Regions from separate parts of the Homo sapiens genome. Here regions 1, 2, 3 and 5 are each linked to region 4. Evidence: promoter capture Hi-C in 16 types of primary human blood cells and fetal thymus (Javierre and others, 2016). All regions are on one chromosome and are shown on one strand. Each heading gives the region's core, a stretch centred on a gene start or on the middle of the fragment in contact. The rest is flanking DNA. Distances are from core to core; before and after follow the strand shown. Region 1 holds the start of DRAM1 (DNA damage regulated autophagy modulator 1). Region 2 has its middle 10 kb from the start of GNPTAB. Region 3 overlaps WASHC3 (WASH complex subunit 3). Region 4 holds the start of UTP20 (UTP20 small subunit processome component). Region 5 holds the start of GAS2L3 (growth arrest specific 2 like 3).

Region 1 (2,956 bases), core at 391-2,890, 600 kb after region 4:
CATAATTTTGTTTTTATTTATTTATATTTTTGAGACAGAGTCTCGTTCTCTCACCCAGGCTGAAATGCAGTGGTGTGATCTCAGCTCACTGAGAAAACCTCCATTTCCCAGGTTCAAGCGATTCTCCTGCCTCAGCCTCCTGAGTAGCTGGGATTACAGGCGTGAGCCATGATGCCTGACTAATTTTTTGTATTTTTAGTAGAGATGGGGTTTCACCATGTTGGCCAGGCTGGTCTCGAACTCCTGACCTCAGGTGATCCACCCACCTTGGCCTCCCAAAGTGCTAGGATTACAGGCATGAGCCACCACGCCTGGCCTAATTTTGTTATTTTGATCTATGAGTGTCCTCGTCCTGAGGGTACTATTACTATTTCATCTTTGTAGCCTAGCATGGCGCCCATGAAATGTGTTTGTGGCTGAAAGGAACCTATCTTTGGTCACCAATGACCCAACAATTTTGGCCACATATGTTGGGCTCAGACTCCCTAAACTATCAAAATCATGTGCTTATATTATAAGTGCCTCCAGAACACAAATCCCTTTCACAGGGCTTGAAATGTATCAAGTCACTATTAATCATCTTAGGCCAAGGCTCCGAGTCTGGGCTACTCCAGAACCTGGAGGGGAGTTTTTTTTGTTTTTTTTTTGTTTGTTTGTTTTTTGAGACAAGGTCTTGCTCTGTCACCCAGGCCGAGTGAAGTGGTGTGATAAAGGCTCACTGCAGCCTCGACCCCCAAGGCTCAAGTGATCATCCCAACTCAGTCTCCCGAGTAACTGGAACCGGCTTTTTTTCTTTTTCATTTTTTTTTTTTTTTTTTGTAGAAGAGGGGTTTCGCTATGTTACCCAGGCTGATCTCTAGTTCTTGGGTTCAAGCGATCCTCCCAACTCGGCCTCCCAAAGTGGTGGCATTCCAGGGGTGATGGCTTTTGGATGCCTCCCAAAGTGATGGCTATTCACGGCGCCCGGCCTGGGAAATCTTATTTCCAGGAAATATTCTCCAGTTGCGCTCTCCTGGAAAGCAGCACAATGGGCCTCCCGGCTCCGTGGGCGCGCAGTCCCACCCGCCTGCCCCGCACCCCACCCGCGTACTCTCCACCCCACCCGTTCCCACCCTGTCTGGGTTTTCGGGTGTTCACCATTGAGGTGGGAGCCACATCTGCGCCCCGTGACCTGGCGAACCTCATTGAACACTTCTGCCCGACCCCCGCAGCAGCAGCGCGACCGGATGGCATGGGTGTCACCACGCGGTGGCCACTCTCACTGCTGCGAAGCGCCGGCGGCGGGACCTCGGAGGGGGCGCCCTCGGGGTGCGAGGCCCGGCACTCCGGAAATCCCCCGGGAGGGAGGGGTTGGGAGAAATAAATCCTTTTCTCCAGAGTTGCGCAAGAGCCAGCGCGGTAGGGCCAGAGTGGGAAGGCCAGAGCGGGCGTCCCCGCCAGTGACCCCACGCCGCCCGTCCGCGCCCAACCCGGCCTCCGCCGAGTGTCCAAACCAAAAGCGAAAGGAACCCGACCCCGCGTCCCCTCCGGCGGCTCCGTAGTCGCGTCCGCTTGGAGCTCGCCGGGCGCCTCCGACCCTGCCGGGCCGCTTTGTGACTTCACTCGTTTCGCAACAAGCCCGGGCAGCCCGCGCCCCACCCACTCTGGCCCGGCAGCCTCGCCGCCCGCAGCCTCGCTCCGCTCCTCGCGCTTCCCCTCCCTCCGGGGCTGGGCCTGCCCCGGCCGTCGCGGAGCCTCCCCTCCCACCGTCCGTGAGTGTACGCGCCCGGCCGCCGCCTCCAGGCAGCCCGGAGCAACCCGGCGCCCGGCCCCGCTGGGCGCAGCACTCCGTCGGCGGCGGCGGCGGCGCGATGCTGTGCTTCCTGAGGGGAATGGCTTTCGTCCCCTTCCTCTTGGTGACCTGGTCGTCAGCCGCCTTCATTATCTCCTACGTGGTCGCCGTGCTCTCCGGGCACGTCAACCCCTTCCTCCCGTATATCAGGTGAGTGGCAGGGTGGGCGTCAGGGCCCCAGGAGCAGGCACAGGGACCACAGGGAGCGCTGCCGACGGGGAGGGAAGGCGTCCGGACCCAGCTTGGGGCGTCGTGTGGTCAGGCAGAGGTGGGAGCAGGAGGAGAGGTGCTCCCGATAGCCTGGGATGTTTAGGGAGGCAGCGGGTGCGGCGCTGAGCACTTCTGCCTGTACCCGGAGCATGGAACAGGGTGGCAGCAAGGAGAGGTTCAGGATAGATGGTAGAGCTTTCATTCTGGGTATGGGACAGAATCTCAGCAGGACGTTCTTAGGCGATATTGAAACAAGATGGGTTCTGATAGATGACATATATTATACAAGAGGTAGATCCAGGTATATGCTAAACAGCCACTATTTTCACTTCTGCATCCCAACATCCCTTGAAGTGGATGTTTGGGCTTATTATTCCCGCAAGCGAGCGGTGGTGTAAAGTTGATGAAATATCATCAACGTGACACTGATGTCACACTAGTTAATGGTAGGAGCAGAATTCACACCCGGCCATGCAGAAAGCAACACTGTGCTGCCCCCAGGTCTCTGGGAGTCTGGCTTAAATTCTCTGGAGCTGCACCAGACACCTCTGGGCACTGTGACCCCAAAGTCCTCAACTTGTCAACAACTTGTGACATCTTTTGTGTTATTTTACCCATTCACTTTTCCTGTGCTTTGGCCTCTACCTTCCTGAGGGGCACTTCAGTGCCAGGGACAGTGGTCTGATCCTCCTATGTGGGTTCCAGCTCAGTGCCTTTCTCATAGTGGCAGGATTCTTTAAACGTTAGAACCATCCATCCTTATCTAAGTAGTGTGACCCCTCTGGACAGGCATTGGTTGGTGAACGGATGATAAGGTTGGTGACACCCAAGGTTTGTTACTGCTATGATAGAAAATGTAGGGCGTCTTCTTCCCTGCAGCCATTCTGTCTGGTGAGCAATGTTCTGTGTTTTTTT
Region 2 (3,056 bases), core at 302-2,801, 560 kb after region 4:
CAAAAACTTTTTAAAGAAAGAAATTAGCCAGGCATTGTGGCCCGTGCCTGTAGTACCAGCTACTCAGTACTCAGGAGGCTGAGGCAGGAGAGTTTCCTGAGCCCAAGAGTTTGAGGCTGCAGTGAGCTGTGATTGTACCACTGCTCTCCAGCCTGGGTGACAGAGCAAGATCCTGTGGAAAAAAAAAACAAACAAACAAACAATAACAACAACAAAACAAACAAACAAAAAACCCAGGAACAATGCCTCATGCCTGTAATCCCAGCACACTTTGGGAGGCCAAGGTGGGAGGATCACTTGAGCCCAGGAGTTTGAGATCAGCCTGGGCAGCATAGTGAGACCCTGTCTCTAAAAAAATAAATAAATAAAAAATAAATGGGCACACCATGGGGTAGCCCTGCTCCACAAAGAGCAGTAAAAAAATTTTATGCCAAATAAATAAATATTTTTAAAAGGACGGAGGAAGGGAGGGGAGCAAATATGGAAAGAGTTGGGGCGGGGGGTGATGCCACCTTCTTCCTGCAACATTCCTTCATCGCCCTCTACTGGCAAAGCTTCACATCACACTCACTGCAAAAGAAACGCTTCAAAAGAAGTCCAATTCATTAATACACAGCAAGTTCTGAAGGAGTGAATTTGGAACTGAGAGGCAACAATTGATTATTGGCATATCCTTGAAGCCAGGGTTCTAGGTGTGGTTGAAGTTCTCCTAATCAGGTGAATTCACAGAAGATTTCAACCTGGAAGTAAGCTACATGGAGAGAGAGAGGCAGTGCAAAGGGCGCCTGTTTTGGCTGGAGTGAGTGAGTCAAGGCAGGTGTGGTGCAGTTGGAAGCAGCTTCCTGCCTCTGTAGAAAGCATCCTGATCCTGCTCTTTCTGATCCCGGCAGCGTCAGTAGCTCCCTTGACAGCTTAGTTCAGTGGAGTATTAGGACCTGATCTTACAAATTCAACCTAGTAGTCTCTATCTAGAATACTGTCATAGGTAAAGGCTCTTTGTTCAGACCTCCTGAGGGCTTATGGGTAGGCCAACTTAATCCCTTTCTGTTTAAATCAGTGAATAGATTCCTTAATCTACAAATAATTACCCTGACCAAAATAAGGTAAGAGAACATAGCTTGTATAATAGTAAAACTCCTTGGAATTCATTGACTCTTCCTTCGTTGCCTAGCACATTGTCCATTTTTGTAAAGTTTCAGGTTTGCTCAAAAAGAAAATATTCTCACCAATGGCTTTGGCTCATGCCTGTAATCCCAGTGCTTTGGGAGGCCAAGGTTGGAGGGTCGCTTGAGCCCAGGAGTTTAAGACTGGCCTGGGCACATCGTGAGACCCATCTCTATGAAAAGAAAAAAAATTAGCCGCGTGCAGTGGCTCACGCCTGTAATCCCAGCACTTTGGGAGGCCAAGGCGGGTGGATCACCTGAGATCAGGAGTTCAAGACGGACCAGCCTGGCCAACATGGCGAAACCTCGTCTCTACTAAAAATAAAAAAATTAGCCAGGCCTGGTGGCGCATGCCTGTAATCCGAGCTACTCAGGAGGCTGAGGCTTGAGAATCGCTTGAACCCGGGAGGGGGAGGTTGCAGTGAGTCGAGATTGTGCCATTGTACTCTAGCCTGGGTGATAAGAGTGAGACTCCATCTCAAAAAAAAAAAAAATTAAATTAGCTAGGTGTGGTGGTACAGACTTGTAGTTCTAGCTACTTGGGAGGCTGAGGAGGGAGGATCACTTGAGCTGAGAAGTTTGAGGTTACAATGAGTTGTGATAGCACCACTGCACTCCATCCTGGGCAAAAGAGTAAGACAAAAGAAAAGAAAAGAAGGAAAGGAGGAAGAAAGGAAGGAAGGGAGAGAGAGGGGGAAAGAAAGAAAAAGAAAGAAAGAAAGAAAAGAAAGAAAGAAGAAAGAAAGAAAGAAAAAGAAAAAGAGAGAGCGAGAGAGAGAGAAAGAAAGAAAGAGAGAGAGAAAGAAACAAAGAGGCTGGGCTCAGTGTTTCACGCCTATAATCCCAGCACTTTGGGAGGCCAAGGTGGGCGGATCACGAGGTCAGGAGATGGAGACCATCCTGGCTAACATGGTGAAACCCCGTCTCTACTAAAAATACAAAAAATTAGCCGGGTGTGGTGGCAGGCGCCTGTAGTCCCAGCTACTCGGGAGGCTGAGGCAGGAGAATGGCGTGAACCCCAGGAGGCAGAGCTTGCAGTGAGCCGAGATCAGGCCACTGCACTCCAGCCTGGGCAACAGAGTGAGACTTTGTCTCAAAAAAAAAGAAAGAAAGAGAGAAAGAAAGAAAGAAAGAAAATTCCCTCTGTGTATTTTTCTGTCTGTCTTGTCTCTCCTGTCTCCCCCTTAGTTCCTAATTTCTTCCCTGTTTAAGTTCTCACAAACCTCAGGATCAATATGAAGTCCACTGTGATGTACTTTGCAGAATCTACCTATTTGCAAAAGCTAACTCCTACCCTCATCTTTGTACCTGGTGTTTGAAAACTGGATCAATTTTCTGATCTCCAAGCATTTGGAACTTTCTTTAGTTTTCATCTCCTTAAAACCAAAGCTTCCAACCCCACCGGAAACAAACAAACAAGCAAACAAAACACCCAAAGCAGTGAGCACTCAATATATATATTTGATTATCCATAAATGCTGATTCTCTAATTCATTGCAATGTCAAGTTCATAATTAAATAGGGAGACTTTTGCATTTTGCATAGTCTGCTTTCCAGAATACTGTCAGGGATACTCTGATATTTTGCTATAATGCTTTGGCAGTGCTCTAGATGTATTAAACTCACTGTAACCAATCCCAGGAGCACAGTAAAAGTCCAAGTGATGCCAACCAACAAGGAAATTTCAGAGTTAATTTATCCAAAGTATAAATATCACAGTGAAAGAGTAATAACTGGTGCTTCTGACATTTTAGGCTAAAGGAACGAATAAATGAATGTGGCAAGAACCCCTAGATTATACCAAAAGAAGGGTGAATAATTATTAGGGTTAGTGTGAATAGAGAGAAGCTTATGAAAAGGAAAAAGATTTTCTGTTGTCTTTTCTTCTGTCAT
Region 3 (2,751 bases), core at 238-2,737, 770 kb after region 4:
CTCCCAGTTCACTCTCAGTTCAAAAACTAACAGTTGAGGTTCCTCTTTTGTTGAGAGAAACAGTCAGTTGGTTCTTGTTTGAGGCTTTAAATAAATAAGGACTAGAGGCCTATTAGGCACTATTAACAAAAACATTTCAAAACACCAAAGTGACTTTACCTTGGGAGAAAATGGCACCTTACATTTGAATACATGTATCTTTGGAATTGACATAAAAATATATTACATCAAACAGACATAGCATAGCAAAGAAGTGAATGAGTCTAAAAATAGATTTTAATATAGCTATAAGAAGGTACTTGTACTGCACTCTCTCACTTGAAGTTGACATAAGCATGCTTCTTAATCAGATAAAGCAGTGCAATGTAAGAAAGCAATGAGATATTGACTTTTCCAGTTAAAAAATCAGTGGGAATCCAGTTCTGCTACTTTCTATCTGTGTATGTGCAGCTAATGCAGCTACAACTACTGGGGGCATGCAAAGATATGTTGAATGAATGAATGACTAAGCAAATGATTTAAACTTCTCTACATCTTAGTTTCTGTATCTGTATGAGTGGGATAACTAAACCTCTCTCAAAGGACTGACTGCGATAATTAAATACACATAAAGCACTTAGTATGATGCCCAGCACAGAGGAAGTACACAATAAATATTAGTTGTTATCTCATTGAGCAGTCTCCAGCTGACATGAATATCCAAATTGCTAAAATATATATTGTAGACAATCAGTTACAGTCAACCCTAGATTATCATACATAAAGGAGAAAAAGGTGGGACAACAGCAAGATGGGGGAATAGGACTTTCCAGCACTGATCCTCCCACAGAAACATCCATTTGAAAAACTATTCACGCACGAAAATACATTCTCAAGAGCTAAGGAGACCAGGTGAGAAATTACAGCACTGGGTTTAGCACAAAAGTAAGAAAAAACACACTGAAGAGGGTAAGAAGGACAGTTTTACAGAACTCATGTCACCCTTCCCCCAACTCCAGGCAGCACAGCATGGAGAGAGATACCCTCCAGGTGGGCGAAGGAGAGGCAGTGAGCACAGGACTTTGCCTTGGACCACAACACCAGGCCCACCCCAGCAGAACTCAGTGCTGAGCAAGCCCCCTCAGCCCAGACTCCAGGCTGACACCTGCAGGCGAAGCCTTTAGGCCCATCCTGGCACTAGGCTGGATCACCCAGTCCTGAGTTCTAGGCTTGTCCCACTGGGACCGTAGGTTCCAGACCAGCTCAAGGCTCAGGACAGTCCCAGCACCAGGCAAGACTGCATAGATTGTCTCCAGGTCTGCTCTAGGGACAGGCCAGCCCCAGTGGCCCTAGGTTCTGGACCAATCCCAGCACAGGGCTAGCCTCCATGGGCCCAAGGTTCAGGCCCACCCCAGCACCAGGTCAGCTCCTGCAGATATAGGTTCCAGGCCTGACCAGTGCCAAGTCAGCTCCTGTGGCCCCAGTCTGGCTCCTGCAGCCCATACCCTAGTGGAAGTAGGGTTTAGGCCCATCCCAGTAGGCCCTTCTGTTGGGCTGACACCCATAAACACAGGCTCCAGGACCATCCCTGTGGACTCAAGTTCCAGGCTAGCCACTATTGCCGTAGGACCCAGGCCAGCCCCATGTAGCCCAAGTTACCAGGCCAGCACCTATAATCTCAGGCTCCAGTCTGGCCCCTGTGACCCCAGGCTGCACACTTGCCCCAGCACCAAGCTGGCCCCAGACAAATCCCTGTGGTGAGTCAGGGTCTAGGTATGTTCCAGCAGACCCAGAGTCTGGGACCACCCCAGTAGATTGCATTGCCAGATTGGCCCCCATGGACGGAGGCTGCAGGACCACTCCTGCAGACTCAGGCTCCAGGCTAGTCACAGTACAACCAGGACCCAGGCCCACCCCCACATACTCTGGCTCCAGGTCCACCCCAGGGGTTCCAAGCACCAGGCCCACCTTGGAACCTGGCCAGACACTGCAGACTCAGGCTCAAGGCTCACCCCAGTGCCAGACCAACCCCTGCAGACTTAGGCTTCAAGTTGGAACCCTAAGGATCCAGGCCCACCCCTATAGAGCTAATCAGCAGGTCCACCCCAGTGGATCAGGCTCCAGGAACAACCCTACGAACCTAGGCACCAGGCCAGCCTACCCAAGGACTCCAGCAGCAAGCCTGCCATGCACCACAACAGATGGCCTGTCTAGAACCTCTGGATGAGCTTACTGGTGAAGGGCTTTCCCAGACAAAGCCAGTCTGCAAAGACTGGAGTAAGTCCTTACTTCTTCAAACACACACATACCAACACATGGCCACAAAGACCAAGAATAATCAGAGAAACACGTCACTACTAAAGAAACAAATCACCAGTAACTGACCCTTCTTCACAACGAATCCAAAATTATTGTTTTAGGGAAACTCAGTGGACTTCAGGAAAATTCAGAGAAACAATTCAATGAAATCAAGAAAATAATAAATGACCAAAATGAGAAATGTAACAGAAAGATTGGAATTATTATTTAAAAAATCAAACAGAAATTTTAGAGCTGAAAAAAAAATGTATACAGTCAAATTCAGAATATTCTAATACTGTCATGGTGATTAAATCACTTATATCTTTAGTATGAAAGTTAACAGACAAAACTATTAAAAATAATAATAGCTACAATAACTTGTTAAGGGATATGCAGTATAAAAAGATATACGTTGCAAAATCAAAAGCAAAATGTGGAGAGGTGGAGTAAAAGTGCAGAGGTTTTTTATGT
Region 4 (2,899 bases), core at 94-2,593:
TCCTTGACTAAAATGTAAGCATCTCAGACCAAGTATTTCCAGTCTGGGCATGGTGGCTCACCCCTGTAATCCCAGCACTTTGGGAGGCCAAGCCAAGAGGACTGCTTGAGTCCAGAAGTTTGATACCAGCCTGGGCAATATAGCAAGATCCCATCTCTACAAATAATAATAATAATAATAATAATAATAATAATAATAATAAAAGAGCTGGGTGTGGTGGTGCATGCCTGTAGCCCTAGCTACTTGGGAGGCTGAGGTGGGAGGCTCACTTTAGCCCAGGAATTGAAGGCTGTGAATATTTTCAAATAATTAATTAATACTATTATTGCCTTTCTCGTTTGGCTCCCAGAACAGTACCTGGTCCACAGAGGACTCTCAAGAAATAGTTGCTGAATGAATGAATGAATGTAAAATGGGGTAAATAATTATATTTTTAAATTATTTTTTAAAATTGTACATATATGTATATATAACTGTACAATTTAACAACATGCTATGTGTAGACATTAAAGTGATGGGAAAAACACCAAACATTAACAGCGGTTGTGCATGAAATTAAAAGATTTTTCTTAAAACTCCTTCTCTATTTTTCAATTTTATTTACAGCGTAGTGGTTAAGAATACCAAAATTTAGAGTCTGAGTGAAGACTGCCAGTTACCAGCTGCACAACCTTGGTTTCCTCTTGTGTCAAATTGGCTTAAAAATATACACAGTACCGGCCAGGCGCGGTGGCTCACACCTGTAATCCCAGCACTTTGGAAAACCGAGGCGGGCGGATTGCCTGAGCTCAGGAGTTCGCGACCAGCCTGGGCAACAAGGTGAAACCCCGTCTCTACTAAAATACAAAAGAATTAGCCGGGCGTGGCGGCGGGTGCCTGTAGTCCCAGCTACTTTGGACGCTGAGGCAGGAGAACTGCTTGAACCCGGGAGGCGGAGATTGTAGTGAGCCGAGATCGCGCCACTGCCCTCCAGCCTGGGAGACAGAGTGAGACTCCGTCTCAAAAAAAAAAAAAAAAAAGTATATATCTATATATAGATATATAGATAGACGCAGTACCTCCTTTGTATTAACATCCCTAATAAGCTTTACTGTGAAATTATGGATGAAAGGATCTTTGCACGATGCAGGTACGTAGTGAGGGACAGTAATGTTAGTTGATAACGATTACAGGTATGTTTTATTTTATAATGAAAATACATTTGTCTTCTAAACCTTTACCGAAGGGAGTGAAAAGAACACCTCACCCAAACGCCCGCCCTTATGTGCGCAGCCCCGCCTCCTGTAGGCCCCACCCCACCAAAGGGTGCGCCTGCGCCGTTCTTTTTTCCGTCCACGTGACCCACTCAGGCTCCTCCTTGTCTCCAACATGGCGGCGCCCAGGGGCTCAAGCCGCACGTGAGAAAGTCTGGGCATCTGGGAATCGGAGAGTATAGCCTGTGAGCCGCTTTCCCCTCCTTACTGTCGGTTGCATCCCTTCGACACTCCCGAGGCCGTCGCGGGCCACTGGCCCTCTGCAGCCATGAAGACAAAGCCCGTTTCCCACAAGACCGAGAACACCTACCGGGTGAGCGCGGGAGCTTAGGCAGGGAGCCGCGGGTCTCCGCTGCCTCAGTCGTGAGACAGGCTCTGAGCGAGACTCCAGGGGCCTCAGACTTCTGGGCCGAGTGTGTCACTTTCCTGGAGGCTCCGGCGAAAGAGGGAGACACTGGATGTAGTAAACATGGGTTGGAGGAGGAAAGAAGTGTGGACAGCAAGTTTCACCCATGTTTTATGGGGTCTGGCCAGTCCTGGGAATTTCCTGTAGTCCAGAATTAAATTCACTATTCCAGGAGATTGCTTAGGACCAATTCTCCCCTGCTCTTTTATCTTTAAAGACCGAATTGGGCGAGTCGGCTGGCGGTGAGTGATTCCCAGCTAAGGGCAAATATACAGCGCTTTCTCTGTTTGCCCCTTGATAGATTGTTTCCAGGTCTTCCTTAGGATACAATCATAGGTCTGTATATGTTTAAAAACACTTTTATTGCAGCGACTTTGCTAGGTCCCCATGCTTATGGGAGGGTATGAAACCTAATAGATCTAGCGAGACTAATTGCCAGCATCCACCTAGGCTCACCAGTCTGGCAATGGAAATTTTATTTGAAATGACATAGCTGAGAGAAATTATGCAAACATAGAAGTATTCATTATCTTTGAACAGTGATGCAGTAAATTTGTTTACGGCCGTATGTTTTTCAGTTTATTTTTCCACTTATCCTTTGTGATTAGAGATGCCTACATGCAGCATTCAAATAGATATTAAAGATCTGATAAATTTTAATTAATTATGTATCTTAAATATACTTTCCCTTCCAGTTTCTTACATTTGCTGAACGACTGGGGAATGTTAATATTGATATTATTCACCGGATTGATAGAACTGCAAGCTATGAGGAGGTAAGAGAATGTGATACTAGTCAATCTTCAAGTGTTCATGGTGTTTTAGTTTCTTCTGTTAGTAGAAGTGAATTGTTTTTCAAGGTATTCCTTTTTGGACATGAAATGCTTTAGACCTGTGCTGTTTCATACAGTAGCCACATATGACAAATTGGATTTAAAGTAAATTAAAAATTTGGGTGCCCAAATGTGGCTAGTTGCTAACATATTGAATAAATATAGAATTGGAACATTTTCATCTTTGCAGAAAGTTCTGTTGGGTGAAGCTCTATTAGACAATTGACTTGACTTTCAGCTGTCTTTGTGATTCTAGCCTCTCCCTTTCCCTTATGCATTCCAAGCACTGCTGCAGATCCATATTCCTGAAGCTATAACTTTAAAGTGATTTTGAGGAAGCCCTTTTCCCGGGGCTTAATTTTCTCCTTTATAAAAATAAAGGGGCTAGACTACATAATATTTTCCAG
Region 5 (2,736 bases), core at 66-2,565, 710 kb before region 4:
TTTCTTTAGCAAGCAACAGTACATCTCATTGTTTTTGTTGAGTAAAGGAAGGAATAAATGCTAGAGAGAGATGTCATTCCAGTTCAGTGCCCACCATTCACAGATGGAGACCTGAGGCCCAGAGAGGAGACATGATTTGAGGAAGGCTAAAAGACTGAATAGGGCCGGGTGAGGTGGCTAACGCCTGTAATCCCAGCACTTTGGGAGGCCGAGGTGGGAGGATCACTGGAGCCCAGGAGTTCAAGACCAGCCTGGGCAACATGGCAAAAACCCATTTCTACAAAAAACACAAAAATTAGCCCGGTGTGGTGGCACAGGCCTGTAATCCTGGCTACTCTGGAGGCTGAGGTGGGAGGATCTCTTGAGTCCGTGAGATCAAGGCTGCAGTGAGCCGAGATCGTGCCACCGCACTCCAGCCTGGGTGACAGGGCAAGACCCTGTCTCAAAAAAAAAAAAAAAAAAAAAAAAAAAAAAAAAAGAAGGGCCTGGGCTGCAACACAGGCCTCGGGGACAAAGCCAGTGATTTTTTTAAAAAATTATTTATTTATTTATTTTATTTTTTGCTATGAAACAAGCCACATTTACAGATATAACCGACTTGGGATTGTTACACTGATGTCTAGTCTCGGCTTTATTTCAACCCTGGGAGCTAGTAAGCATCCCTTACGTTGAAGTTCATTGTTTTTTTGTTTTGTTTTGTTTTGTTTTCAGGCTCCGGTGTTTGCTGAAGAGTCAACATCCTCCTTTTGTGACTTGGGACTACAGGATTCCTCCTCATCCCTCCGCACCTGAGAAGAGGGGCCTCTCTCTGAAAGATTTCTGCTGAGGACCCCCATTCCTGCTGGGTTCCAGGCTGCGTCTCTGGAAACCGTGGCGCCCTCAGGTCAGCCAGCTCCCGAGTGGATGTGGGGTTGGGAGCGGCTCTTAACAGACCAGGATAAAACTCAGGGAAGCGCCTTCAGCTGCACCGCAACATTCCAGGACGCTCAGAAGCAATTATTACAGGCGAGGTTCATTCACCTCTCAGGCCTGTGGGAACAACAGGACGGGCTGTGGCTTTCGAACTGGCTGTCGCTGAAAGGCCAGATCGGAGGACCTGCTCTGACTGAACCACTTCGCCTTTCAGTGAACAGAGGGACTTGGCCACCGAAGCTCCGAGACGCCCGGAGGCGCAGCGCTGGACGCGCTGACAGGCGAGCGCCCACGGGTCGCGTGCTTCCCGGCAGCCCGGGGGCGGGGCCTCAGACCACGCCCCCGCCTTATGATTGGTCCCTTCGAAACAGGCGGCGGCCAGCGGCTACTGACCCTGAGGCCCAGGCGGCGGCGGCAGCGGCGGCGGTTGGTCAGGGGCGTGTTGGCCCCGCACAGATTGAGCCGAGTTGTCGCCCCGCTGGGAGAAGTGACCCTCCTGCGCCTGGTGAGTACTTCCCTGTTTGTCTTCTCTTTTCCTGGCGAACTTTTACGCGCTGTCTCGGGGCCTCCGCGCCTCAGCCTGAGGGCTCCAGGAGCCCCCCGCTCTCTGAGGCCCCGAAGCTGAGGTTTGTTGGGTCTCCCGGCTGCGGGAGCCAGTACGCTCTGCGTTTGCCTGGCTGCGGCAGTCGCGTGCTCTGATTGGCTCCTGGGGCCGTCAAGGTGACGTTGCGCCTGCCTTCACCTGTCCACCCAAGTGCGGAGAGAGGGGCGACAGGTGTGCGGGGCGGTTGGGGCTGCTGGTGTGGGCGAGCTCAGCTGGGGAGGAGGGATCCAGCCGCTACTCGCCCTGCTTTAAATCCAGAGCGGTATCAGAGCCCGAAGGTACTGTGGGATCTTCAGGGGCACCCTCATCCCTAAGCGCCTGGCACTTAGAGGGTCTGTTTTTTTCTGTTCATCATCCTCGGAAAGAATTGATGAAGTCTCTGGCCCTGCAAAGAGAAAGAGACAGACAGTTATTCTTGCCCTCTAGCAAGGTTTATAGGCTCTTCCCTGTTTTTTCTCCCAGTCCATGCAGGGTCTAGAACGCCCACATGTGCGGAACTGGGGAATAGAGCTGGAGACCCTGCGCGATGCCTTCCGCCCACAACCCTCAGTTTGGAGGACTGCCCGGGGAGAGGCTGGCAAAAGAAAGGGAAGGCTTGTAGAGTGCCTTGGAAGTCAGAGGAAAGTTTTGGAGGGCGTGCTCCTCTATGCAGTCACCCGTGGTTCCTTTCCTAATCTTTTCACACCGAGGGATTGAATGTTGTAAATTTGAGTGCTTTGTGGCATGGCATGGTGGAATAGCTGATCCCCAGTGGTTGCAAAGAGATGATTTTAGGTCAGAGCCTGGGTTTTGCTTCGCTTGTGTGAAGAGCAAAAAACAAACAAACAAAAACAACAAGAACAACAGAACCGCTTTGTGAATTGCTATCTGATCACCTGTCTTGGCACTTAAATGATTAGAAATTGAAATTCTCACCACCTCAGATTCCCTTTGGGAACAAATTGGAACTGTTTCAAATGACAGAAGTGGAAACTCTAGTGATCTGGTGTAGATGCCGATACCTGTTGTCTGACTCATCTGTTTCAAAATCTCATTAGAAACCAACTGTCATTGAACAGTAGGTGTTTGCTATCTGACATTGAATTAGAAGTAGTAATTTTTTTTTTTTTAGCGTGACAGAGTTGCTAAGCAGGGGGGCTCTGAAATCAGACTTCATTGGATATCTGACTTTAGACACATTATTTAATCCTTCTAAGCCTAAATTTCCTAGTCTGTGAAAG

The links. Contacts are between HindIII fragments. The CHiCAGO score rates a contact against its expected background, and 5 or more counts as called.
Region 1: a contact is called between the fragment with the promoter of DRAM1 here and the fragment with the promoter of UTP20 in region 4, in 1 of 17 cell types (monocytes). The highest score is 5.1, in monocytes.
Region 2: a contact is called between a fragment that was not itself captured here and the fragment with the promoter of UTP20 in region 4, in 4 of 17 cell types (fetal thymus, naive CD4 T cells, naive CD8 T cells and 1 more). The highest score is 7.0, in fetal thymus.
Region 3: a contact is called between a fragment that was not itself captured here and the fragment with the promoter of UTP20 in region 4, in 2 of 17 cell types (activated CD4 T cells and total CD8 T cells). The highest score is 5.2, in activated CD4 T cells.
Region 5: a contact is called between the fragment with the promoter of GAS2L3 here and the fragment with the promoter of UTP20 in region 4, in 1 of 17 cell types (monocytes). The highest score is 7.3, in monocytes.

The regions. Positions count from the first base shown.
Region 1 is chr12:101,875,940-101,878,895 of GRCh38, forward strand. DRAM1 (DNA damage regulated autophagy modulator 1) reads left to right here and starts at 1,641. Exons shown (of 7, transcript NM_018370.3): 1 at 1,641-1,981. The coding sequence starts at 1,851. RefSeq lists enhancers at 1,045-1,827, 1,618-1,667, 1,828-2,609, 2,248-2,337, 2,478-2,527 and silencers at 1,278-1,437, 1,688-2,027. The HindIII fragment of the contact is 18,310 bases long and covers 1-2,956 here.
Region 2 is chr12:101,839,407-101,842,462 of GRCh38, forward strand. No RefSeq gene overlaps it. Among named protein-coding and RNA genes, the nearest start is that of GNPTAB, 10 kb to the left of the region's middle. The HindIII fragment of the contact is 1,998 bases long and covers 553-2,550 here.
Region 3 is chr12:102,051,240-102,053,990 of GRCh38, forward strand. All of the region lies in intron 2 of WASHC3 (WASH complex subunit 3), which reads right to left. Among named protein-coding and RNA genes, the nearest start is that of WASHC3, 9.4 kb to the right of the region's middle. The HindIII fragment of the contact is 4,399 bases long and covers 1-2,751 here.
Region 4 is chr12:101,278,762-101,281,660 of GRCh38, forward strand. UTP20 (UTP20 small subunit processome component) reads left to right here and starts at 1,344. Exons shown (of 62, transcript NM_014503.3): 1 at 1,344-1,566; 2 at 2,355-2,435. The coding sequence starts at 1,522. RefSeq lists enhancers at 1,043-1,634, 1,368-1,417. The HindIII fragment of the contact is 7,469 bases long and covers 1,084-2,899 here.
Region 5 is chr12:100,572,369-100,575,104 of GRCh38, forward strand. GAS2L3 (growth arrest specific 2 like 3) reads left to right here and starts at 1,316. Exons shown (of 10, transcript NM_174942.3): 1 at 1,316-1,417. RefSeq lists a silencer at 1,161-1,290 and an enhancer at 1,321-1,610. The HindIII fragment of the contact is 13,205 bases long and covers 1-2,736 here.